Linked DNA regions of Homo sapiens: regions 1, 2, 3 and 4 are each linked to region 5. The links are contacts of gene promoters, found by promoter capture Hi-C in blood cells and fetal thymus (Javierre and others, 2016). All regions are on one chromosome and are shown on one strand. The core of a region is centred on a gene start or on the middle of the fragment in contact, and the rest is flanking DNA. Distances in the headings are between cores, read along the strand shown.

Region 1 (3,989 bases), core at 111-2,610, 700 kb before region 5:
TCCTTTCAGGGTGAAACTACAAACTTAGATCTCCACCTTTTCCCCCTTTACCACTGGCAATTCAATTAATTCCTAATGAGAGAAGTATATCTTTCTTGCAGATTCAGAAACATTTTCTAAGTTCCTTTTTCCTTTCTCCTCTCTCCCACCTTTGACCAGTTAACTCAGGAAAATTGTCCATTTCTATGCCCATTTGTGAAAGGACCTAATCAGGGCTTAATATACTTATTATTGTAATCATAATAAAATTAAAACATCTAACATTCCTTGAATACTCACTGTACCAAGCACTATGACATGCACATTATATCAGCCCACTTAATTCTTTTTTTTAATATATATATATTTTTATTATACTTTAAGTTCTAGGGTACATGTGCACAACGTGCAGGTTTATTATATATGTATACATGTGCCGTGTTGGTGTGCTGCACCCATTAACTCGTCATTTACATTAGGTATATCTCCTAATGCTATCCCTCCCCCCTCTCCCCACCCCATGATAGGCCCCGGTGTGTGATGTTCCCCTTCCTGTGTCCAAGTGTTCTCATTGTTCAATTCCCACCTATGAGTGAGAACATGCAGTGTTTGGTTTTTTGTCCTTGCGATAGTTTGCTGAGAATGATGGTTTCCAGCTTCATCCATGTCCCTACAAAAGACATGAACTCATCATTTTTTTATGGCTGCTTAATTTTTGTAAAGTGTAAATATTGAGCCTACCTTGGAGGATGGCACTATTATTATTATCATCTCTATTTTACATTGAGAAACCTGGGGTTTAGATAACAAAATCCAATAGCTACTAACTGTTTGAAATGGAAATCTAACTCAGGCCACCTTCCCAACTGCAAAGATGATGCCCTTAATCTCTCTCCTATAATGCCAAGGAAAAAGGTAAGTAAAATCAGAGAAATTAGGAGCCTCAAAAGTTTTCAGAATTTTGTTCAAAACTTCTGATGGCAGCGGCAACCGGCCTGGAGTGGTCATTGCCATGATGCCAGTTGCAGTGGGGGAGGTGCAGCCAGGGCTGCATGCTCCATGGAGCCAGTGGGAGCGAGGAACAGGCAGAAGCCGTGCCCGTTTCTGAGTGGCGGGGCAAAAGTCCCATGTTCCTGGGCACAGCTGCAGCCACCCAGCCATGGCTGCAGACCTGGGCATCCCTGCACTCTCAGGGCCCCGGAAACCACTTGCCTCTGTAGGCTTCAAAGTGCTTGCTTCCCCTGCCTGGCCTCTCCCAGCTCCCAGTGCCCACTCTGATTTTAGAGCAAAGTTATGGCCGAGCCCAGGCACTGTCACAACCTGGCTGGGCGTGTGCTCGCTCAGGGAGGCACTAACATGCCAGCCGCCTGCCACCTTGGCCCTCTCCAGACTGTGGTCACTGATGAGCACAGGAGGGAGGCCGAGGTGGGGCTGAGGGCAGCTCAGTTTGGCCCTGCAGGAACCCCTCTGCATGAATAGCCTGGGCGCCATGGGCACCATGGACGGCAGGTTGATGGCGGCAGGAGTCAGGCTCCTAGGTGGAAAGAGGCGGTCCCCAGTGAAGCCTGAAGCCTGGGGCCCAGGCTGTCAGTTCCACGTGAAGTCTGCGCCCAGAGTGAGAACTTGTGGTGCTTTTTTGTTGGTGATGCCAGTTTTTTTTTTTTTTTCTGAAAGATACTTCAAACTTCAAAATTTAAATGGGAGATTGATACATAAGATGGTCTTCTTAATATCCAACTGTTTATCTTGCTTAACCTTGGTAACTATATGGAATGTATTCTAATTATTTTATTTCTTAGTTAAGTATATTTTATGACTCTTAAAACTACTAAATAGAACTAAGAAATACCATTAAAAGGTCAAAATGTTATATTTTGTAATGATATATCATCCAAATTATGCTTTTCTGAAACGTTCATCTAATTTTTTTTACCACCTTGAGATTACTGTTAACTATTTTCTCTTTTATATTATATTGCTTGTCAAAAGGACTTTTTTTGGGTGAGGGGAGACAGGTGCTTACCTGACACTATATTATTTAGTATACAGCAGACCATATTTCATCTTTTTTTTTTGAGATGGAATCTTGCTCTGTCGCCCAGGCTGGAGTGCAGTGGCGCGATCTCAGCTCACTGTAAGCTCCGCCTCCCGGGTTCACGCCCTTCTCCTGACAGCCTCCCGAGTAGCTGGGACTACAGGCACCCGCCACCACGCCTGGCTAATTTTTTGTATTTTTAGTAGAGATGGGGTTTCACCGTGTTAGCCAGGATGGTCTCAACCTCCTGACCTTGTGATCCGCCCACCTCGGCCTCCCAAAGTGCTGGGATTACAAGTGTGAGCCACCGCACCTGGCCATTTCATCTTTTTTAGGTTATCTTTTGTTTGCTTTAAAAAATGCATTGGTACAGAGAGAAATGTAACATTTGTTTCCCTATCACCCTAACATTATGCTAAATATATGCTAATATTGCTTAAATATTAGCAAAATTTAAGAATTTGCATGTTTGCGTCCTATGTTTTTAAGGGAAAGACAGCAAATATTTTTCCATCCCCCATCATGCTCCTTTTCCGGAAGCAACCACTCTCATAAATTTGGTGTGAATCCTTGAAGTCTGCTTTTATATTTTAACTGCACGTAGGTATAGGAGAAAAGATACTGAGTTGTTTGATATCTTATTAGTTTTACATAAATAAGTTACACATATCTTCTGCAACTTTTTTTCACTCGAGATTGAGTCATTGAGATTGAGTCACATGAGACTGAGATTGAGTGTACATATAGATTTAGTTTATTGATTTTAGCTGCTGTCTATATCATATCGATTATATGAATATGTAATTATCCATCCTCCTACAAGTGGTAAGGTGAATTGTTTAGAATTTTCTAATATTACAAACAATATGACAGTTAATATCTTTGTAAATGACTCCTAATACACATGTGTGTTTCTGCAGGGCAATATACCTAAAATTGGATTCACTGGTTTGTAAGATGTGCAGATATTTAACTTTACTTACTACTAATAGATTATTCTCCATGTACTAATCTTAATTTATACTGAATAAGTGGTTATCTCTACCTGTATTCCCATAATTTTTGTTTACCCACATTCTTATGTACACTTGTAATAGTTCTTTTTTTTTTTTTTTTTTTTTTTTTGAGACATAGTCTTGCTGTCACCCAGGCTGGAATGCAGTGGCTTGATCTCAGCTCACTGCAACCCCTGGCTCCCAGGTTCAAGCAACTCTCCTGTCTCAGCCTCCGGAGTAGCTGGAATTACAGACATGCCCCACCACACCTGGCTAACATTTTGTATTTTTAGTACAGACAGGTTTTCACCATGTCGGCCAGGCGGGTCTCAAACTCCTGACCTCAAGTGATCAACCCACCTCAGCCTCCCAAAGTGCTGGAATTACAGGCATGAGCCACTGTACCCTGCCAATTAAGCTATTTTAATTTTTGCTAATCTTTGGATGTTAAATGGTACCTTGTTAATTTTTACTTCCCTAAAAGTGTTTATTTGCCACTTAGGTTTCCTCTTCTGTGAAATGCCTATTTCTATGCTTTCCCCATTTTTGTACAGGGTTTTGTTTTATTCTTATTTGTAGTGCTTTATATTTGGTGAGTACTAATTCTTTATATGTTATATATGTTGCAAATATCTCTCCCAATATTAGTTTATTTTTAACCTGTTTATGTCTTTTAGTTTATCAGAAACTTTAAATTTTGATATAGTCAAATTTGTCTATTTTTCTATAATATCATATTGAAGAAATCCTCTTTCCTACTCTAAGACAAAAAGATAAAGCCAAGATCCCCTAATATTTGAGTCTGATTTTGATACTGTTTCTCTGATCTTATTAACTACCCCTGAGCCATTATCACATTACCTTAATTTCTAAAAATTATATATGCATTTATGTGTGCATATAAGCTTATTTCTGTTTGGTTTTTGTTCGCTCCCTTGTTTTATGAAGCTTCCTGAGAAAGGGTTCATAGGAAGTAAAAT
Region 2 (4,051 bases), core at 426-2,925, 950 kb before region 5:
AAGCAGAAGAAGTCTTTGAAAGAATATTTGGTGATCCAAATTCTCATATGGTAATTATTTAAATTAAAACCATAGAATTTTAGAAGTGTTTATGTAGAGTGAGGAAAACTGAAAGAAAATTGGAGGAGAAAAGAAATGCTTTATCTTTTAAACAGTATAGAATAATACCGTGCAACAGAAAAACTACGCAAGTCACATATGTGATTTAAAATTTTCTAATAAGCTGGACGCAGTAGCTTACACCTATAATTCCAGCACTTTGGGAGGCTGAGGTGGGAGGATCTCTTGAGCTCAGGCATTCGAGACCAGCCTGGGCAACATGGAGAGATCCTCATCTCTCCAAAAAGAAGGAATAATAAATAATGAAAAATAAATACAATTTTCCAGTAGTCATATTAAAAAAGTAAAAAGAGGCCCGGTGCAATAGCTCATGCCTATAATACCAGTACTTTAGGAGGCTGAAGCAGGAGGATCATTTGAGGTCAGTAGTTCAAGAGCAGCCTGGGCAACACAGCGAGACCCTGTTCTCTACAAAAAAATTAAAAATTAGCCAGGTGTGGTGGCGCAATACTGTAGTCCTGAGGTGGGAAGATTGCTTGAGCCTAGGAAGTCAAGGCTGCAGTGAGCTATAACGCTGCCACTGCGCTCCAGCCTAAGCAACAGAGAGAGACGCTGTCTCTAAAAATAAATAAATAATAAAATAGTATAGTATTTGCATATAACATATGTACATCCTCCTGTATAGTTTAAATCATCTCTAGATTATGTATAATAACTTACACAATGTAAATAGTTGTACTGTTTAGGAACAAAAAGATACAAAAAATCTGTATGTGTTCAGTACAGGTGTAATTTTTTCCCCCATACATTTTGTGGAACAAATATATGCATTTCTTTTGGGTTTATATGAAGAGTAGAACTGATTAGTCATAAGATGTGTACATACTCAGTTTTAGTAGATATTGCCAAACTGTTCTCCAAAGTAGTTATGTCAGTTCCTCCAGTAGTGTGAAAGAATTCTAGTTGCTCCACACACCTTGTATCTGGGTTTTCATTTTAGCCATTCAGGCAAATATGTAGTGCTATCCTGTTGGATTTTAATTTGTTTCCCTGATGAATAATCAGATTGAGCACCTTCCCTTGATAATGTTAGTAGATAGAGTTGGAGAGTGACTACCTTAATCCAGTAAGGAACCTGGGCCTAGTAGAGAGTAGGTTGGGCAGTTTTGGCAAGGCTTTGTCTATCTCTAATTTAACCCTGTACCTGGGGTATAACCCTCCAGAAATTTCAGCCAATAGCCTGATATGTCTGTTGGGTTTTCTACCCTTAATATTTTCTCCATAGCACTATGAGACTACTGAAAATTCTACTCTGCTTATACCTCCCAGAAGAGGAAAACTTAATGGCCAGGAAATATTAAGAGGTTAAGATAAGTACTTGACCTCACTAGTATTAATGTTGCCTCATTAGGGCAATATTAAGTACTATATTGAAATACCACTTTCCATGCCTCAGACTGGCATCAATTAAAATGTCTTAGAATATCAACAGTTGTCTCAACAAATTGAGAAATGATTGTACTGCCTGCCATAACTTCCTTTCAAGACTGTAAATTGGTACTTCTTTGGGAGATCATTTTAGCAAAATATTTTAAGCATGCATTCCAGCAATTCCACTTCTAGACAATACCTTAGAATAGCTGGTTTCACTTTTAACTGCATATTTTAAAAGCCATGAAGTTTAAAGGCAACAAAAAACCAAGGCCTTCCTGAGACAGTTGCTCTGGGATTGAGCCTAAGAATTTTTTTAAAGTTCTACTTTTTTTATTGTGCAGCCAGCATTGAAAAAGCTACTGTCCAAGAAAAACACATACAATGCACAGAAGATAATGTAGAAAAATGTTGAAGAGCGATACAATAATTGCAAGTAGCCTAAATCCCTCAATAGGCATGAAGAATGGATGAATAAGTGATGTTTTTGATCAGTGTAGTACTTTACAATGGCAAAAATAACTACTTCTAGGAATATCAAATCAGCATGGATAAATGTTGTAAACATAGAGTTGAGTGAAATATAGCAAGTTTCAAAAGAATACGCATCGTACAACACTATTTGTAGAGTTAAAACCATGCTAAGCAATGCTACATATTTGTGGATACATACATATGTAGTGCAAGTAAAGGAATTCCTGGGAATGGTGAATTCTAAATTCAGGGTAATGGTTACAGTTAGGAGAGGAAAGGGAATACAATCAGATTATGGTAGTAAACAGGGATTTTAACCATATTGATTATGTTTTATTTCTGAAACTGGGTAATGGATACTCTGGTTTATAATACATATCTTTTTGAATCTGTCTAAAATGTAAAATATTTTTTAAAATGAGGAGAGGCCAGAAGAAGTCAGAAAAAGGTACATTGGCATGCCATTTAAAACTTAATTTTAAAAATATCTGTGTCTCTTGAGTTTGTAAAGTGATTTCTTTTCAATTAAATAATATGTGACAAAAATCGTTGTATCTGTAACTTTGTGTGATTTATGTTAATATATTTCTTCTGTTTTCTTTAGCCTTTCAAAAGCAAATTGCTTATGATAATCTCTCAGAAAGATACATTTCATTCCTTTTTTCAACACTTCAGCTACAACCACATGATGGAGAAAATTAAGAGTTATGTGAATTATGTGCTAAGTGAAAAATCATCAACCTTTCTAATGAAGGTATACATATTATTCAAGAGTGACTAATAATAGACTTAAAGGAAACGTTATAATAAAGGAGAATACTTGAAATAGAAATCCTTTAAAATTAATCAGAATTTTTCATTGTGGTTTTGTAGAAAGGTGTGGTAAAATGTTACATTTTGTGGACCTAATTAAAAGATTTATGAGTGATATGTACTTTTGTAACTTTTCAAAATTAGTTTGGGGAAATTTTCAAAAGAAAAAGTTGAAGGGAAAACTTAGAATGAATTAAAAATAAGAAATAGGCAAAAGCAAATATTTTAATTTAAGTAAATTTTAAAGACTTTTTAAACATATTTTTGGGGAAAAATAGAATTGTATTAAAGAAGGGCCTTTTAAAATTTTTCTAGGCCAGGCGCGGTGGCTCATGCCTGTAATGCTAGCACTTTGGGAGGCCAAGTTTCAGGAGTTCGAGACTAGCCTGGGCGACATGGTGAAACCCCTTATCTACAAAAAAATACAAAAAAATTAGCTGGGCCGGGCGCGGTGGCTCACGCCTGTAATCCCAGCACTTTGGGAGGCCAAGGCAGGTGAATCACACGGTCAGGCGGATCACACGGTCAGGTGGCTAACATGGTGAAACCCCGTCTCTCCTAAGAAAATACAAAAAAATTAGCTGGGTGTGGTGGCAGGTGCCTGTAGTCCCAGCTACTCAGGAGGCTGAAGCAGGAGAATGGCATGAACCTGGGAGGCAGAGCTTGCAGTGAGCTGAGATTGCGCCACTGCACTCCAGCCTGGGCGACAGTGAGACTCTGTCTCAAAAAAAAAAAAAAAAAAAAAAAAAAGCTGGGCATGGTGGCATACACCTGTAGTCCCAGCTACTTTGGGGAGTTGAGGCTGTAGTGAGCTGAGGTTGAGCCACTGCACTCCAGCCTGGGTGACAAAATGAGACCCTGTCTCAAAAAAAAGACATTTCTGGTCAGGCGCAGTGGCTCATGCCTGTAATCCCAGCACTTTGGGAGGCCGAAATGGGTAGATCGCTTGATCCCAGGAGTTTGAGACCAGCCTGGGCAACATGGCAAAACCCCATCTCTACCGAAAAAATAGAAAAATTTAGCCAGACATAGTGGCACACGCCTGTAGTCCCAGCTACTTGTGGCGGCTGAGGCAGAAGGATTGCTTGAACCCAGGAGGTTGAGGCTGTAGTGAGCTGAGATTGAACCACTGCACTCCAGCCTGGGTGACAAAGTGAGACTTGTCTCAAAAAAAAACACATTTCTAGTCAGGCGCGGTAACTCACGCCTGTAATCCCAGCACTTTGGGAAGCCAAAATGGGTGGATCGCTTGAGCCCAGGAGTTTGAGACCAG
Region 3 (4,177 bases), core at 434-2,933, 660 kb before region 5:
ATTGAGCCTCCATGGACTCAAGTAAAACGGAAGAAGGATGATTGTTTCAAATAATTTGTAATTTTTTTAATAGATAAGAGGCATACATTCAAGTTACATTATGTTAAAAGGCACAGCCGTGACATCATAGAAATACTCAATGAGATATTTTTGCTGATCACTCAATGCTGGCCACTGCACTAATGGAGTTGATCCCTTATTGAGTCATTTACGAGAGTCTTAGGCAAATAATACCTCAGCGTGACCTCAGTATTCGGGGTGTGTGGTAGGAATTGGAAAAATAATTGTTGAATCTAAATCGTAACATATTTGAGATGAAAAAACTTTGGACATCTCCTCTTGTCTCACAAATGAGTTTAGTCAAGATCCAGAGAGGTCAAGTAACAAAAGGAAGGTCAAGTAATTGGCAGTCAGGACCAAGTGGGTTTCTGGATTCCAAAGGCCAGTGTATTTTACAGACAAATTGAGTTTTAAGTCACCTTATTTCTGGTATTTCTGCATAGTGAGCTCTAAAATGTAAGGGAACGTTAATATCTGAGTTGCTGCCTTGAGGTAAATTCATCCTATCCTTTAACAGTGGGAAGACAAGTTAATGAAGCATTTATTTTTGCTGAATAACTAATGGTGTCATCATCGAGGTGTTCATTTGAAAAGCCTGGCTCTTTTATTAGCTTCTTGGTTGCAGGGCAACTGTAGGAGTATTCTTGTGCATGTGTGTTAAGTACTAACTGCTGATTCTGTTCAAATGTTGCACTAATCCCTGCGGCCTCACAATAATACATGTTTTTAAAGGGATAGATTTAACATTGGCACAAATTTGACTATTATGACATGTTCTTTAGTCTCTCCTCTATTATCTAAAGAGTGAATGTTTTGTCCCAATCTGATAGAAATTAAGATGAACATTTTGTTAAGTCTGAGAGAGTAGTTCCAGGCTTAAGTATCTTGGGGCTCTATTGCACAATTGGTCAGGGGACCTTTCTGTCTCTACAAACATACCCAACTAGGAAAAAGAGGCTATTATGCAACAACATATGCATGTTAGAATTTCTGTTGTCAGCTGCAACTAGAATATTTAAAGTTGGCATTGCTAGTAAATACAGATTTAGGTTTTACTTCCTAATTAAATATGTAATTTTGTAATGAAGATTTTTTTTTCAAATAATACTTTCTGTGGTCGAAGTAAAATGTCTAAAGTTTGGTCAGTATACTTAATAAGTAGATACCTTTAGAGGTACTTTAGCCATATTTTCCTTACCCAGGTGAGCTGATAGTATGTCACCATTTTACATTTTTTAACACACTAATGATGTATCCTATTAACTTTAACACAGTTCACTATATTTTAAGCACCTTCAGGCATTATAGGAGGTATGGTCCCCTGTGGAAGTCAATGTCTACTCTTTCTTGGATGTTCAAATAAAAGATAAACACTTCAAAACCATTCTTATAAAAGATGGCTTTTTTGAATTGATCACAGGACAATGAATAAAACATTGTGAGGCTACAGGGACTAGCGGAACATTTGAGCAACATCAGCAGTTAGTACTTAACACACACGCACAAGAATACTCCTACAGTTGCCCTGCAAAAGTTTGTGCTTTTGCATCATTTTCCAGGAACAGTGACTGAGTTCTCAGAGAAGAGCGCCACCAGATGTCATTTTAGCCTTGTAAATAAGCAGGAGAGTGTTCCTTTGTGATTCTGATAAAGATAAGTTAACTCTGGCAGCTGCACAGGCAGAAGGGGTGGAACAGTAGAGGAAAGTTGCCCAACCATGTGAAGGGTGCCGTAAGCATTTCCAGTCAGACGTTCTTTGTTCAGTGGAGTCTTGATGGTGTTCTTTTTTATTCAAAGTTTACATCATGCTATTATTTGGAGATTCTGAAAATCCTTAAGCATATGTGAGAAAACTGTGCTGTGCTGGTGGTGTTGACCTTTCTCCCAGCGTTATATGATTTATGGTCCTGTTTGGAAATGAATGTCTACTCTTTCTTGGATTTCAAATAAGAGATAAACATTTCAAAACGATTCTTTTAAAAGATGCCTTTTCTTGATCACAGGACAGTCGTGTATGTGCACAAAAATAATAAGGCCTTCTCCTACGGTGAGAAATTAACTTTGCTTTTCTCTCAGTGCTCAGGAACCTAGAATTGCTTACAAATATGGAAAACACATTCTGTTGTACCTACACCTTTAAAATGTCATCAATCTCAGAATTTCAAAAGTCAGACCTTGCCGGATACCACATTTCTTCACATTGACTTTTGTTCCACTTTAGGCTAATTTGTCCTGACACTGCAGCTGCAGGCTTTGGGCTGCACAGTCTGTCATTAAGAGTACCAAGAATGGTCTGGAGAGTCGGAGCTGTTGGAAGTTAATTTGGCGTAAACTTTACTTTAAAAGATTTCTCGAGCTATGACATGTCACGTCTATGTGCAGTTACTTACATGTCTGTTTAAGAAGTTCTTGCTTATATTACAAATGTGACCTTTACAGTTATCTTTCAAAGTGCCCAGTGCTTTGAAGAGGAACCCTGAGGAGCTAAGGAGATATTAGACTTGTTAAGCATGTTTCATAGGAATGTCAGTGTCCATTTGAATGTCCTTCCCTTTTTTTTTTTAATCACACAGCAACCCTGTCAGCTGGTAGCAGAATATGGTATTGGAATCTTGTGATCAAATTAATCATGGTAGTCAAAGTTCTAGCTCTACATTTAATAGCCAAAGTCAGTTATTAAAAGTTTTCTCTTTTGCAAATAAGAAAATCCCTAGGCCCCTTCCAACTCTAAATTCTGTAAACTTCCTGTTTCATATATTGGTTACTGACTTTGAGACCCCCTAGATCAAGAGTCAACCATATTTTCCTGCTGAAGAACTTGATGTCCTCTTCTGTTTTTTAGACAGTAAAGAGGACACTGCAATAGAGTGCAATTCTCTGACTTACATTTAGCATCTAGCAAACCTTGCCAACCAGCATGGGCACCAGCTCACTCTGGAGACTGAGCACATGTACTGCATTTAGAGACCCCTTTACTAGATGATAACTCCTGATCTATCCATCCTTATACTTGATGTAACACAGCAGTCCTATTGGTCAGCAAATTATCTGTGCTGCCCTCTCAGATCCACCCATGCGTCACAGGCATTAATCTATACCAAAGCCGTTTGGCTGTGTGTTTCAGATTTGCCCTTTATGTTCTTCTGACGACTCTTTGAGACAAAGTTAAAGATTATGAACCTTAGCTTGAACTGACTGGTGTCATGGCAACTAGCACTTCACCTTTTGCTGGTCTCTATCTCATACATGCTACAATATTTGTGCACATTAATAATTCATTGCAAAGTGCCAGATTTCTTTGTGCTGTCAAGCAGTGTCAAGGACAGAATATGCTGTGCTATCTCAAATGTCATCTACCAGACTGTTGAGGGCAAGAGTAATTAGAAAAGAAAACTAGTCAGGTTACTTGGGAAAATTCCTGAAAATGTGATGCTTTCTAGTCACCCAACTATAGCATTTTTCTTGCAAAGTATGGAATAGAATTCATGTTGATCAAAGTTTATTTAATAATGCGCCCCAGACATAAGGCAGGAGTTTGGAGTAATTGCTCGCCTCTATTCAGGCAGCAAAGGAAATGATTAACAGCCTTCGTGCTCAGTCACGTGTACTGGGCTCCAGCGGGAACCTGAGCACAGGCTTAAAAGAAACCCGAGTGGTCCTGATGTGGGTGCTCCTACCCCAAGCCTGCCTTTGCCCGACACAGAGCAGAGCTGAGTAAATGTTTGACACCAGCTTTAGAAACAAGCCGTCTGGGATCTCAGGCTGATTAGCGGCCCTGGATAGCTTTCTTCACCTCTCAGTTCCCTCCGCGCAGCTCTTTGGTGGTTGTTGACGCTGTGAGTGATTGTTATAGTAATTGCAGTGTTGCCTGTAATTAATGAGCCTTTCAAATAAAAAATATGGATCTTTGTCTTAAAAATGTGGAAAATGCAAAGATACATTGGATTTAATTTATACAGAAGGCCAGATTTGTCCTTGATTAGGCAAAGAAATCACATGTTTTAAACTGAACATTGACTCACCTGTGCTTTACAGAACAAAACAAATAATCTCCCTCTCAAAAGAAAGCTTCATATTACAACCAGCCAGCATGTGTCGTACTTTACTCTTTAAAATT
Region 4 (4,100 bases), core at 1,118-3,617, 510 kb before region 5:
TTTAACAACTAACGGCTGCTGTTTTGGTGTTAACTTGCCAAGGTTTTTATATTACTAAGGTAAATGCAGAGACATAATTTGAAAAAGAATAATAACATTTAAAGGGTGCTCCTACTTTGAGAGTGTATAGTCACAGAAGAGAAGCCAAGAAACCAAGCTCCTCTTCTAACATGAAGAATAAATTCCTAGTGAATACAGATAATATGAACTATTTCAGATAGGCTTTATTATTAGATTTGCACCAAAAAAGCCATATTTTTCCAGTCTATAGAAATAGCCTTTGAGAATACATTTTCCATATAGAAATCAGAAACCCCTAAATACATTCTGAGAGCCATCTTGAATGTCCAAACTTTTTAAAAGGGGAACTTTAAATAGTTGGAAGCACTCTGGTTTCTGGAGCTGCATTTTTACCCTTCACCCTGTCAGGAAGGGGGGCCTCCTGTGTGAAGTCGCCTCTCGTTAAGGTGATCCCCTCCGCGAAGACCTCAACCAGCAGCCCTACCATGTGCAGAGCTCCCACTGAAATCAAAACCCAACCTCAAGCTCACGCAGCTCCGCCTCCACATATCGTCACATCCCACACATGCTGCTGTCATCACACCCACGCTGTTGTCACAACACCCAACGGGCTGTTACTAAGGGCCCTGGTATGCTGCTGAATATATGCATTCAATAGGAATTTTCAAAACATATTTCAGGAATACTTGTCCTTGGTTCCGCATCATCTGCTCAATGCAGCCACTGTCTCTGGAAGGAGCAACTCCTATCGGGCACGGCTCCTTTGACTCTTGGGGCCTCCTGCGTCCCCAGCCCCAGCCGTGAATACACAATGGAGATCAGAGGAATGCTGCAGGAGGAATCTAGGGCAGTGCTTAATTGGATCATTCCCCTTCTATTAGACCATTCATATAGGTCAGCACATCTCACTTCACCCTCTCCCTCTACTCAGCAGTGGCTGCCAACCCAAGCTCAGATGCAATTCAAGTTATGTATCTGTATCTTCTTAAGATTCCCAGGGTCTTAGCCTGAGGTACCTGACAAGTTATGTTTCTGGCAAAACATTCCTTCTAGCCTCTTCGATGCTACGGAATAGCTGTGGTCTCTATATTTAATCAAACAAAAACTAGAAGAAAATGGGGGCAGGAGGGCATTGTTGTTGTTTTGACTAAAGTGGTTTGGGCAAGGTCATCTGTTCCAGGTTAGAAGAGAGACATTATTTGACAGACAGCACAAATTACTGATTCAATACTTGGGGGCTCTTAATTCTTGTTAAACATGTATGGTGAATTACTACAGGGGACGAGAGAGGTTTTGAACAAGTTTAAACACATTTGACGACATCTAGCTTAAAAACTCCTTGTCACCTTTCCTGGAAATTGATGTGAGTACCCAACAGAGGTAAAGGATGGCTAAATAATTATTACATTGGCCTTTTGAGGAAAATGCCTAAGTGGCAGGGATGACTTGTTCTCTGCTAAGGCTCTGAGTACTCTTAGATCCATGGTCTTCTAGACTTGAGCTGTCTTGTGCATTCTCTAGTTGCTTTGGAGGTCTCCATTTTGGTGACAACAGAGGCATTATCAGTTGCTTCTGGAATGACAGCCATAATTATTTAGTGCCAGACACTATACACAGCTTTATTTTTATATATATTCTTCAAACCAAAGTCACAAGGAGCTCTAAGATTGTCCTAACATTATCTTATGGTAGGTTGGTCACATCCTTCAGATTTCTCATACGCTTCTGAGAGCAATTCATTCCAATGGTTTAGCCATTGACACAAGAACCAGCTTAAGACCGAGAGCCTGAACTGTAGCTCTGAGCTTCTGTTTCTGGGGTGTGCCTGCTCCTCTCCTCTCTCCACACTATTTTCCTTCTTTCAGTTGAGTTCACCCAACATACATTGGGTAACTGTGTGCCAAGTTCTTTCGAATGTATTGGGTAGTGGGTGGTGATACAGGCTGTAGAGTCAGACCAACCTGGCCTGAAACCTGGCTAGGAGACTTAGGGGAAGTTACTTTACCCCTCTAAGTCTCAGTTTCTTCAATGACTATCCTCAAATGAGACAATGCACACAAAGTATTTAGCAGAGTGCTTGGCACACAGGAGATGTGCAGGACATAATATCTCTCACTATTACACAGATATACACGACAGATCAAAAACAGCTCATGAGCTAGTGGGAAGGAAAACACTACAGGCCATCTGAGTATTTCCTAGTAAGGGCTAGTTTCAAAGGAGTAATAATTATTCCAGCCTTAGTAAGTGGGTAGGTGGAAGATGGGGCTCAGAGGAGTAATACAGGAAATGATACCTGAGCTATGCTTTATTGGATAAGCAGTGGAAGCCATCCTCTGTGGTTTGAAAGACAATCATAAACCTTGTAGAGTCATAAGTAACATGGCAAATATGAGGTGACTTTGGAAGCTCCACACCATTTCTTCTATGTATTAAATGCACATGCTAAGGAGAGGATACCACTTGCATCATGTCATGCTGGTGGCAGCAAAGAGGCCAACAGAGAGCACAAGCACAAGCACGGCAGCAAGTAGGAGGAGGATGGAGACTGTGTAGGAGGGAGAGAATGAGGTGGGGAGAAGCAGAAGCCAGGCAGGAACGCAACCGCGGGCTTTCACCAATCTGTGGAATGTAGGGGAACTCAAACTCAGAGCCTGCAGGGATGGAACTGGACAGTCCCCAAGAACTCTGCACTTGGGACTCTGCCCAGCCGTGTGGCCACACCCAGGGCCCCAGCTGTCTGGTTCTCAGCAGCTCTGCCCAGGCTCTTCACCTTTGTCAATCCGATCTTCCTGCTTCTTTGTCTGCTTTGATTACCTAAGCCATGCCTGCCACATCACCCCATCCCTCCATCTTTTCTCTTATTATCCCCCATATAGAATGACTTTTTGTTCACATCTATCGGTAAAAAAATTTCACCTATTTTATTTTTATTTACTTATTTATTTGTTTTTTTGAGGCAGAGTTTTGCTTTTGTCACCTAGGATGGACTGCAGTGGCATGATCTTGGATCATTGCAACCTCCACCTCCTGGGTTCAAGCAATTCTCCTGCCTCAGCTTCCTGAGTAGCTGGGATTACAGGTGCCTGCCACCACGCCCAGCTAATTTTTGTATTTTTTTTTCTTTTTTTTTAATAGAGACAGGGTTTTCCCATGTTGGCATGTTGGCCAGGCTGGTCTTGAACTCCTGACCTCAGAAGATCCACCCGCCTTGGCCTCCCAAAGTGCTGGGATTAAAGGTGTGAGCCACCACACCTGGCCTATTTTATTTTTTTGACAGGGTCTCGCTCTGTCACCCAGGCTGGACTTTAGTGGCATGATCATGGCCCACTGCAACCTCCCCCTCCTGAGCTCAAGCTGTTCTCCCACCTCAGCCCTCCAAGTAGCTGGGACCACAGACATGCACTACTATGCCCAGCTAATTTTTGTATTTTTTTTATAGAGAAAGGGTCTCCCCATGTTGCCCAGGATGGTCTTGAACTCCTGGGCTCAAGCAATCCTCCTGCCAGGCCTCCCAAGGTGCTGGGATTACAGGCGCGAACCACCACAGCTGGCCAATAAAACATTATAAACCTAAAAAATATGTAAAAGATTTTCCTTATTCCTGCTGCATCTATGCACTTCAAGCCTTGCCTATATTGTGATATGCCAAAATATGTGTTAGTCAAATTTAATGTCTTTATGATATCTAGTATTAAAAAAAGACAACTTCTTTGAGTGCCTTTAGAGTATACACAGCAAAGACTATGGGATTCCAGAGGGTGTAGCCAATGATGGTGAAGAAACCTTCTCTGAACATGTTTTTGCAGAATAATGACTTCTTTGAAGGCAGTCATATGAAGAAGCAATGGGAAAGCCCCTTCTTCTTCCTTCCAGGATGCCTGCCTGCCGGCCTCTCCACTTGCACTTCCTGAGGCACAGTGGAGAAGCAGAATCTGGTAGACTTGGGTTTGACCCCTGGCTGTGTGATCATGGACAAATTATTTAGTAGTTATGATGCTTACTAGAAAGTGACAAGATGAACACTGTCCAGTTTTATCTGACTTTGTACCTTCAATGCAGTATGCTGGTCTTTAGGA
Region 5 (4,384 bases), core at 241-2,740:
GTCTAGCTGTGTCACTCAGTGCAGTGGTGCAATCAGGGCTCACTGCAGCCTCAACCTCTTGGGCTCAAGTGATCCTTCCACCTCAGCCTCCCAAGTAGCTGGGACTACAGGCAGGTGCCACCATGCCCAGCTAATTTAAAAATTTTTTGTAGAGACAGGGTCTCACTTTGTTGCCCAGGCTGGTCTCAAACTCCTGGAATCAAGTGATCCTCTCACCTGGGCCTCCACGTAGTATTGGAATTGCAGGCGTGAGCTCCCGCCCCTGGCCACACATTATTTTAGACTATGAATTTGTTCCTCTCCGGTGCAAATAACATGTCAAATCAAAAACATGTATAGTTCTGCAGTGGTAAACAAAAGTGTGTTTCTATTACTAAGATGCTCATCCTTCAAGACTGAGCTAAATGTGAAGCCAGTCTGAAGACATTCTGAGGCAAAATTAATCATGTTCTTCTTTGTACTTCTGTGGCATTTGTTTGTTCTTTTTTTTGAGACACGGTGTCACTTTGTGGTCCAGGCTGGAGTGCAGTAGTGTGGTCTTGGCTCACTGAAGCCTCGACTTTGGGCTCAAGCAATCCTACCATGTCAGCCTCCTGGGTAGCTGGGACCACAGGCACACACTTACCATGTGTGGCTTATTTTTGTTTTAGGTTTTTTTTTTTTTTTTTTTTTTGTAGAGACGGGGTCTCCCTGTATTGCTCAGGCTGGTCTCAAACTCCTGGCCTCAAGAGATCTTCCTGCCTAAACCTCCCAAAGCGCTGGGATTACAGGTGTAAGCCACCACGGCCAGCCACATTTTGTATATTGCGGTGTCTCAATTGTATTACATTATATTCTAGCCAATTTTCAGGTATTTTCCTCCACTGTTTAAGCACTGTGGATTCCCAGTTTAATCTAGTATTTTGTATCCTCTGCTCCTAGCTCAGTCCTGGCAATAGATTCAGTACCTCTTTAACAAGTAATGAATCAATGTGTATATGGATGTGAATGATTTCCGAAGACAAATCTGGTAACACCTATCAATATTACATGAACAATTCCATTTATTTTCCTCCAACCCGATGATTCAATTAAGTTATCACTCATTTTTGTTCAAATCGTATATTCTTTCTTCTGTGCCAACAGGCTAGAATCATTTTCCGCAAAGGAAACAGTTTTTAGTGATGTCGTCCACGAGAAAAAAAAATATTTAACCCTGGCTTCTGGGCATTGTCATTCTCGTACAGCCCTCTGCCCCTCCACACTGTTATAAAGAAGGTAAAATTCTAGGAAGGAGGAGCCGCTGAGCCAAGGACAGAGCGGCGGGCTCCCAGCTCAGCTGGCGGATAACGCGCGCGGCCGGGAAGGCGGCAGGCGGGCGGCAGGCGGGCGGCAGGCGGGCGGCAGGCGGGCGGCAGGCGGGCGGCAGGCGGGCGGCAGGCGGGCGGCAGATTCTGCGCACGCGCAGGCAGCCCAGCTGCCAGTCAGGCGTCCCGGGCTGGGCATGCGCCACTTGTGCGGCAGTCGGGTGGGAAGCCGTGTCTCGCAGTCGTGGACTCGTGCAGCTGGGGCGTCCGCAGCCGCTCGTCACCCGCGTGATGCTGTTTCTGGCGTTGGGCAGCCCGTGGGCGGTCGAACTGCCTCTCTGCGGAAGGAGGACTGCATTGTGTGCGGCCGCCGCGCTCCGAGGTCCCCGGGCCTCTGTCTCCCGGGCGTCCTCCAGCAGCGGGCCTTCGGGGCCGGTAGCCGGCTGGAGTACGGGGCCTTCGGGAGCCGCGCGCCTTCTCCGGCGTCCGGGTCGAGCGCAGGTAGGGCGTCCGAGGTCTGGTGTCCCAAGTGAGGCGGGGAGGGCGGGCGTCGTGTCGGGCCTGGGGAGCCCCAGCGGCTCTTCGCGACCTCTCCCAGGTGTCCGTGGCTGGAGCGCGGGAGGAGCCCCCTCTGCGGGGCTTGCAGAAGTAGCAGGCCGAGGGCCCCGGGGTCCTCAGCCTCCGCGAGTCCAGGAGAACGGCTGGAAAGTGCTTACTTTTATGGTAGTTCCAAATCCAGAGGGTTTGTGGTGACAACTATATGTAGTTCCTTTTCTGCCCTTGAGTAGAAGCTTAGAAGTGTTAATTTGCAAAAAATTGGATGCAGCACCTGGAAATAGAACCGAAAGAGCCAGGTTAACCTGACTTTGAGCTTGTTCTACTTTTATGAGGTGGCTGTACTTTTAAGAATTACTTTGGTCCCTGGGAAAAGGGGGATGCAGATGTTAATTCTTTTATTTTGATCTGAATAAATTGTCTTCTAATTCTACTCTGTAAAATATCAGGATTGGCAAACCTGGTTAAAACTTGGAAGAAATGCTTAAAATGGAAATTGGAATCTAATTACATTTCAGCATTGAGGAATTAGGCATGCCTTTTACATTTTGAAGTGTATACACTGTGAAACTCATTTTCAGATGTATGGGGAACGCTTCTGTTCCCTTGAAATTTGATGTAGGATTTCAAGTAAATTTTATTTCTTTTTTTTTGGAGGTGAAGTCTCGCTCTGTCACCCTGGTTGGAGTGCAGTGACGTGATCTTGGCTCACTGCAACCTCCGCCTTCCGGGTTCAAGCGATTCTCCTGCCTCAGCCTCCCCAGTAGTTGGGATTACAGGCGCGCTCCACCACACCCCGGCTGATTTTTTTTTTGTATTTTTAGTAGAGACGGGGTTTCACCGTGTTGGCCAGGCTCGTCTTAAACTCCTGACCTCAAATCATCCTCCTGCCTCGGCCTGTCAAAGGGTTGGGATTACAGGCGTGAGCCGCTGTGCCCAGCCAAATTTTATTTCTTGTCAAGAAATAAGAGGACCAGGGGATACACGGTATTTACAAGGTCTTTAGAGAAAGATTTGATCTCTTTAATACTATCATATAAATATTTTAGCAGTATTTGTAAAAGGCCTGGACTTTAAATATAATGTGAGTTTGCGGAGTATTTTACTTAAATTATTTTAGTAAAATTAAATTTTATTTCTTAGAGATGGGGTCTTGCCATGTTGCCCAGGCTGGCCTTAAACTCCTGGGCTCAAGTGATCCACCTCAGCCTCCCCAGTAGCTGGGGCTATAGACGTGTTCCATTACACCAGCTAAATGTATTTATTTTTTGAAAAGGTGTTGCATTTAAATAGAATGGAAATGATGTCGTCATTAACAGTGGAGTAGAAGAAACTGTTACTATTTTTACTTGTTCAAGGTCACACTAGACCTAGAAACCTGAGAGCTGGGATGCTAAGCTAACAAACTCCAGCTCTGCAGTTTTCTACTTGTGACTAGAATTAAGGCAAGCCATTCTGTCAGCCAATTTATTTCTTTAACTCTGTAGATTATTTGGGAGAATTCCTTATGTCACCTCATGTGACAAGTTCTTTTCATTACAATTTTATTTTATTTTTTTGAGACGGAGTCGTGCTCTGTTGCCCAGGTTGGAGTACAGTGGTGTGATCTCGGACCACTGCAATCTCCGCCTCCCAGGTTCAAGCGATTCTTCTGCCTCAGCCTCCGGAGTAGCTGGATTACAGGCGCCAGACACCATGCCCGGCTAATTGTTTGCATTTTTAGTAGAGACGGGGTTTCACCATGTTGGCCAGGCTGGTCTTGAACTCCTGACCTCAAGTGATCCGCCCCCCTCGGCCTCCCAAAGTGCTGGGATTACAGGCATGAGCCACTGCACCTGCATTACAATTTTAAAAATAAACTTAAGCTGGGCATGGTGGCTCATGCCTGTAATCCCAGCACTTTGGGAGGCCAAGGTGGCAGATCACTTGAGGTCAAGAGTTCAAGACCAGTCTGGCCAACATGGTGAAACCCCGTCTCTAATAAAAATACAGAAATTAGCCGGGTGTGGTGGTGGGCACCTGTAATCCCAGCTACTCAGGAGACTGAGGCAGGAGAATTGCTTGAACCCGGGAAGCAGAGGTTGCAATGGTGAGCTGAGATCGCACCACTGCCCTCCAGTCTGGGAGACAGAGCAAGACTCTGTCTCAAAAAAAAAAACTTAAAAAAATTTAAGAAGGTTAGTTGACCATAATGATCCCTGTTTCAATAGATCCCTGTTTATTGGGAAGGATATGTTCGATTCTTAAATACGCCATCTGACAAATCAGAAGATGGAAGGCTAATTTATACTGGCAATATGGCCCGAGCAGTGTTTGGTAAGTAATTGGAGGTGGGTGTACTTACTTTGTTTTTTTCTCTTTTAATTGTAAAAATATCCTTACCATATCTTACTTGTTGTTATGGCATCCCTTAATTACAAGACGTAAGGAAAATTAGATTTTCATTTTTTTTTCTTGAGGTGTGTTGATAAGATGTAGAGACCTTTGCATTTTTAGATTTTTATTTGAGACAGAGTCTCACTCTGTTGTCCAGGCTGGAGTGC

What was found. Contacts are between HindIII fragments. The CHiCAGO score rates a contact against its expected background, and 5 or more counts as called.
Region 1: a contact is called between a fragment that was not itself captured here and the fragment with the promoter of TMEM70 in region 5, in 1 of 17 cell types (naive CD8 T cells). The highest score is 5.0, in naive CD8 T cells.
Region 2: a fragment that was not itself captured here is called in contact with the fragment with the promoter of TMEM70 in region 5 in 1 of 17 cell types (total CD4 T cells); the score reaches 6.9 in total CD4 T cells.
Region 3: a fragment that was not itself captured here is called in contact with the fragment with the promoter of TMEM70 in region 5 in 11 of 17 cell types (total CD4 T cells, neutrophils, monocytes and 8 more); the score reaches 11.8 in total CD4 T cells.
Region 4: a fragment that was not itself captured here is called in contact with the fragment with the promoter of TMEM70 in region 5 in 1 of 17 cell types (M2 macrophages); the score reaches 5.5 in M2 macrophages.

What each region holds. Positions count from the first base shown.
Region 1 is chr8:73,272,118-73,276,106 of GRCh38, forward strand. It overlaps a transcript of C8orf89 not described here. Among named protein-coding and RNA genes, the nearest start is that of C8orf89, 15 kb to the left of the region's middle. The HindIII fragment of the contact is 5,103 bases long and covers 1-3,912 here.
Region 2 is chr8:73,022,253-73,026,303 of GRCh38, forward strand. It overlaps TERF1 (telomeric repeat binding factor 1), which reads left to right. Exons shown (of 10, transcript NM_017489.3): 4 at 1-50; 5 at 2,570-2,719. Among named protein-coding and RNA genes, the nearest start is that of TERF1, 15 kb to the left of the region's middle. The HindIII fragment of the contact is 7,360 bases long and covers 1-4,051 here.
Region 3 is chr8:73,310,854-73,315,030 of GRCh38, forward strand. All of the region lies in intron 2 of RDH10 (retinol dehydrogenase 10), which reads left to right. RDH10-AS1 (RDH10 antisense RNA 1) reads right to left here. Exons shown (of 6, transcript NR_125388.1): 6 at 53-2,544. Among named protein-coding and RNA genes, the nearest start is that of RDH10, 18 kb to the left of the region's middle. The HindIII fragment of the contact is 4,885 bases long and covers 1-4,126 here.
Region 4 is chr8:73,459,120-73,463,219 of GRCh38, forward strand. All of the region lies in intron 13 of STAU2 (staufen double-stranded RNA binding protein 2), which reads right to left. Among named protein-coding and RNA genes, the nearest start is that of STAU2-AS1, 41 kb to the left of the region's middle. The HindIII fragment of the contact is 5,817 bases long and covers 1-4,100 here.
Region 5 is chr8:73,974,705-73,979,088 of GRCh38, forward strand. TMEM70 (transmembrane protein 70) reads left to right here and starts at 1,491. Exons shown (of 3, transcript NM_017866.6): 1 at 1,491-1,787; 2 at 4,052-4,157. The coding sequence starts at 1,578. RefSeq lists silencers at 1,280-1,359, 1,409-1,624, 1,790-1,839. The HindIII fragment of the contact is 7,182 bases long and covers 1-2,075 here.